Linked DNA regions of Homo sapiens: region 1 is linked to region 2. Evidence: promoter capture Hi-C in 16 types of primary human blood cells and fetal thymus (Javierre and others, 2016). All regions are on one chromosome and are shown on one strand. Each heading gives the region's core, a stretch centred on a gene start or on the middle of the fragment in contact. The rest is flanking DNA. Distances are from core to core; before and after follow the strand shown. Region 1 overlaps CASK (calcium/calmodulin dependent serine protein kinase). Region 2 holds the start of MAOA (monoamine oxidase A).

Region 1 (2,700 bases), core at 112-2,611, 1.9 Mb before region 2:
GTCCAGAGAGGACAGGAAAGCTCCGTGCCCCAGGATTATGCATCTTTTCATCTGTATCCTTTATAATAAACGGGTATATGTAACTGGTTCCCTGAGTTCTGTGAGGCGCTCTAGCAAATTAATTGGGCCCAAAGAGGGAGCCGTGGGATCCCTGATTTATAGCTAGTCAGTCAGAAGCATAGGTGACACAGCCTGGGGCTAGCCATTGGCATCTAAAGGTGGGGGCCAGTCTTGGGGACTAAGCCCTCAACCTGTGGAATCTGATGCTATCTCTAGGTACATAGTGTCAGAACATAACTGAATTAGAGGACACCTAGCTGGTGTCAACTGCAGAATTGCTTGCTTGCTTGTTGGTTGGGGAGAAATCCCCACACATTTGGTCACAGAAATCATCTGTGTTAATTGTTGTTGAAAGAGTAGAAAAGTACTTTGTGAGTTTTGTTTTCCTTCCAAACTATGAATTGGTTTCAGTGAGGTAGGGTTTGCTAGAATGGACTTGGCTCACAGAAACATGTGGTTTGGGAAGAGAAAGAATGAAAGTGACAGCAGCAGGAGGCAGACAAAATGCCTAGACAGATAGGGGCGAGTCCTCAGTGAAATTGACCTTCAAGCTGAAGACAGTTTAAAGCCTACCTACATGTCCCGGGTAAATCCATGGACTGGATTGAGAACCTGTCTTCCTGTTTGGTGTGCTTTCCTCTGATTGATCCCCGCCCCTCACCTATTTTACATATACCTACCCTTCCCTAATTGGTTTTCTACACTGTTGTGCCCACCTTTGAGTGGTGTCTTCGCTTTAACCTTTTCTGCATACTCACAAACCAATCAGCACACATGCCCCATTCTGAATCCATAAAATACCATGGACCCAGCCACACTGAGAGAGACAAACCACCCGACTGCAGGGGTGGGGGGGCCACCCGTGTCCCCTCTCTGCTGAAAGCTGTTCTGCTGCTCAATAAAATTCTTCCCTACCCATCCTCACCCTTCAAATTGTCAGCGTATCCTCATTCTTCGTGGATAAGGACAGGAGCTTGGGAACTGCTGAACGCAGGTACAAGCCATAGCACAGGTGGGGTGAGTGGGCCTGACGCCTCAGCAGGCCCATGGCCAAGCAAAGGCCAGGTAGGGGGGCGTTGCTGGCCATGGAGGTCCCTGATTGGCAAAGTGGCCAAGAAAAATCCTGCGTCAAAAAGGTGGGAGATGAGGAATCTTTGATTCCTGGGTGGCCATGTGGTTTCCCACTGTTTTGAGCTGCAGCTGTGCTGCAATCAGCTACTAAAGGTAAAAGTTACTGGTGGAATTCAGAGATGGATGCAACTCCCGGGGAGTTGGTTCACTGGTTGCATGAGGGTATGCAGACTAATATGAAAAAGTGAAATACTAAATTCTTTGGTGTTTATCTCTAATAGCTAAATGAAATTAAAGGAGAATGCTAGGTTAGACTTTGTCTGTCTGAGCCCAGGCCACTAGCCTCAAAGCTGACCCCCAAGGAAAAATTATGCAAGGACACTGAAGTACCTTTACGATTGAAACTGCCTTTGCAAAACTGTAACTAAGGAAATTATGACAGTGAAAAATATCAGACCTAACCAACTCCATCTTGCTTCTAACCTCTAAACTGTCCTTGTCCATTACTGGGCATAGGCCAAACTAGCCTTGGGAAGGAATTTAATTTATAGTTTAAATAATAGCCCTTCCCAAAAGCTAAACTGTTCTTGTAAAACGAATGAAAGGCCACCAGCCACCAAGTACGGATGAGAGGGGCTGGAATTCTAAATGTTACCAGCCATTATTCTGGAGGTCATAAGATTTGCAACTTACATCACTATCGTGAACCTAAGATTGGCCTTTTGAGATATCTTTTCAGGTATTTGCATTTCTAACAACTGGATGGCCCCACCTGGACCTGCCAACCAGTTCTGTGGCCCCCTACCCAGGAACTGAATCAGCATGAGAGGACAGCTTTGACTCCCTATGATTTCATTCCAGAGCCAACCAATCAGCACTCCTGATTCACAGCCCACTACCCACCAAATTATCCTTAAAATCTCTGATCCCCGAGTCTTCTGGGAGACTGATGTGAGTAATAATAAAACTCCGCTCTCCTGCACGGCTGGTTCTGCGTGAATTACTTTTTTTCTATTGCAATTTCCCTGTATTGATAAATCAGCTCTGTCTAGACAGCGGGCAAGATGAACCCACTGGACAGTTACACAACCTGTGGTTATCAAGAAGGGTAGTCAATGTGGGGAAAGGGTAAAACTGATAAACTATTGAAACTGGAGGGTATACTGTGAAGGAACTGTCAGAGCAGTTTCTTTGGTTTTAAATGCTCAAGAGTGGAAGAGCATGTTTGGTTGAGGTAGGACCTGCAGTTCATTATTGAACAATCACAGATGGAAAGGTAGATTTCCAGACACACAGGAGGTTATTTCCAAGGGAATGGCCAGCGTGGTGGACTGGACCTGTTTACCCTGAGAAGGGGACTGTCCAATTTCACCTATAAATGCCAAGTGGTGTACCCTGAAGCAGCAGCTCATTTGCTTCCTATGTAGACCATGTGGGACTGGCTTTATGATGACTGAGATATTCACTCACTGAATACATCCATTACTCTGGCTGTAGTAAATGCTATGGCTAAGGGAGCCTCTTTTGTATGGGCACCAATGAAAACATGAGCGTAATTAACAAGAGACT
Region 2 (2,700 bases), core at 48-2,547:
GACCGTGGAGAAGGGCTGCGGGAAGCAGAACACCGCCCCCAGCGCCCAGCGTGCTCCAGAAACATGAGCACAAACGCCTCAGCCTCCTTCCCCGGCGGCACCGGCACCGGCACCAGTACCCGCACCAGTACCGGCACCGGCACCAGTACCCGCACCAGTACCGGCACCGGCACCAGTACCCGCACCAGTACCGGCACCGGCACCGAGCGCAAGGCGGAGGGCCCGCCCGAAGCCGGGGGCACAACTGCCCAGGTCCCGAACCCGGACTCCAGCTTGGACGACACCTCCTACAGCCTGTCCGAATGGAGCGTCCGTTCTGAGTGGCGGTCCGTCTCGGATCCGCTAGCCAGTTCCCAGTGGAGCACGTCCTCAACTGCCGAGGCCGCCTCCTGGAGCTCCAGCATACACTCCCCAATCAGCACTACCGGTCTTAGCGAGAGTACTGACTCCGACTCCAAGAGTGGCCTCCGGGGTTTCAGCGCTTACAACCCGAGCAGTCGGATCCCCAAGTCTACCACCAGCTCGAACTCCTCCGATGGGGCCGTCACAGCCTCCAATCAGGACACCGGCATTCCCTGGGTATTAGTAACAGGACCTACCCCGCCCGTAAACTCCCCCGTAGAGTCATTGCAAGGGTCTGCCTTCTCCTCAGGGTTCAGCACCCCACGGGGTTTGGTAAAAGGACCGACCCTGCCCCCGGATTCCAACCTGACCTCAGTGTCCGACTACACTTGGATATTTGTACGGGGACCTCCTATACCCAATGACCTTTCGCAAGTGTCAATACAAGCACCTCCTACACCCAGTAACACCCCCGAGTGTCAGTACAAGGGTCTGCCGCATCCTCAGTGTCCAGCTTCCCCTGGGGTTTGGTACCAGGACCACCTCTACCCAATAACATTTCCCCAGTGTCGCCACAAGCACCTCCTGCACCCCATAACATCCCCCCAGTGTCAAGGCAGGCGTCTACCCCCACCTCAGTGCCTGACACTCCGCGGGGTTCAATACAAGAACCTCCTGCACCCAGTAATCCTTTCCAGCTGCCGACACAAGGACATTCTAAACCTAATAACTCTCGCCGAGTGTCAGTACAAGGGTCCGCCCCGCTCTCAGTGCCCAGCTCCCCCCGGGTATCAGCTGAAACATCAGCTCCGCCCCTGGGCGCTCCCGGAGTATCAGCAAAAGGGTTCGCCCCGCCCACAGTGCCCGGCTCCCCCCGGGTATCAAAAGAAGGATCGGCTCCGCCCCCGGGCTCCCCGGGGGAGTTGATAGAAGGGTCCTTCCCACCCTTTGCCGTCCCCACTCCTGTGCCTACGACCCAGGAGCGTGTCAGCCAAAGCATGGAGAATCAAGAGAAGGCGAGTATCGCGGGCCACATGTTCGACGTAGTCGTGATCGGAGGTGGCATTTCAGGTCAGTGTGGACCGTAGCGGTGGCCTGGGGGACCCTGGCCAGTGAGGGGTAGGGGAACCTACAGTAGCTCTTGTGGTGTTTGGGGGTCTCTCATGCATGCGAGAGTGTAGTGTAGCCATGGCTTGGCCCCATATCCTGCGAGGTAGGAGTGGGGGTTGTGCCAGTTTTGCTGGTGGTGTGACTGGGGGAGGCAGACACAATAATTTTACTACTACTACTATTAAATACTAATATTTAATTAGCTCTTGCTGTGCAGTTGTATTTAGCACTTTACGTGGATTTTCTCAGTCCTCAACAGTCCTGTGAGGTGGGAACTAAATTCATCCCCGTTTTGCAAAACCAAGAAACTGAGGTCTGGGGAGTTTCAATAACTCTCTTGAGGTCGAATCACCTAGCTTGTAAGTGGCTGAACGATTTTCTCCCATTTAAGACCTGCAGTACTAATTCCTGAGGTGGCTGCTTTGCCTCACTGATTTCATATCCTTTGCCCTAAACAGAACATCAGGATACAGATTTCTGTAGTATTGAGGGAGCAGTAGTGTTATTCCAGTCCTGCTCTTCTCTATTTTCCGTAGAAAATTTAGTAGGTGAAGAGGAAGGAGGTAGACTCCTTTAAGAAAAGGTTAAAAAAAAAAAGAGGAGAAGAGGGGGTGAGCTCTTAAACTATTCCTGTGTGTGTGTGTGTGTGTGTGTGTGTGTGTGTGTGTATGAACTGTGTTTATATATATATATGAACTGTGTTTATATATATATATGAACTGTGTTTATATATATATATGAACTGTGTTTATATATATATATGAACTGTGTTTATATATATATATGAACTGTGTTTATATATATATATATGAACTGTGTTTATATATATATATATATGAACTGTGTGTGTGTATATATATATATGAACTTGCAGGAAGGTGTAGGACATTTATTGTCCAAAGAGAATCCCTTTATGAAGCAGGGGCTGAGTGCCCTGTTGTATCCTCCTTCCTCCTTTCACTAAGAGCTCCCACCACCTGAATCTTGTCTTCTGATGAGCCAGTTGGTGGGCCAGGGTGCCCCTGGTCCTGGCTTGGATTTGTGGCTAACCAAGTGAGTGGTGCATGAGGCTTTCCAATATCTTCCTGGAAGCCTCATCATGATTGATATATTGTCGCCTATGTTGCCATCATTGGTAAAATGTTTGAAAATTAGGAATTTTGTTGCCTTTCATCCCTGGCTAGAATACCACACTGACCTATCCTCCCCCTACTAGGTGTTAATAATTTCTGAGTTATCCCTGCAGGA

The links. The method cuts DNA at HindIII sites, captures the fragments that hold promoters and counts their contacts. A CHiCAGO score of 5 or more calls a contact.
Region 1: a contact is called between a fragment that was not itself captured here and the fragment with the promoter of MAOA in region 2, in 2 of 17 cell types (naive CD8 T cells and naive B cells). The highest score is 5.6, in naive CD8 T cells.

What each region holds. Positions count from the first base shown.
Region 1 is chrX:41,710,935-41,713,634 of GRCh38, forward strand. The region is part of intron 5 of CASK (calcium/calmodulin dependent serine protein kinase); the gene reads right to left. Among named protein-coding and RNA genes, the nearest start is that of GPR82, 12 kb to the right of the region's middle. RefSeq lists enhancers at 577-1,077, 1,078-1,578. The HindIII fragment of the contact is 3,582 bases long and covers 1-2,700 here.
Region 2 is chrX:43,655,002-43,657,701 of GRCh38, forward strand. MAOA (monoamine oxidase A) reads left to right here and starts at 1,298. Exons shown (of 15, transcript NM_000240.4): 1 at 1,298-1,413. The coding sequence starts at 1,341. RefSeq lists a silencer at 1-200 and an enhancer at 132-191. The HindIII fragment of the contact is 10,667 bases long and covers 1-2,700 here.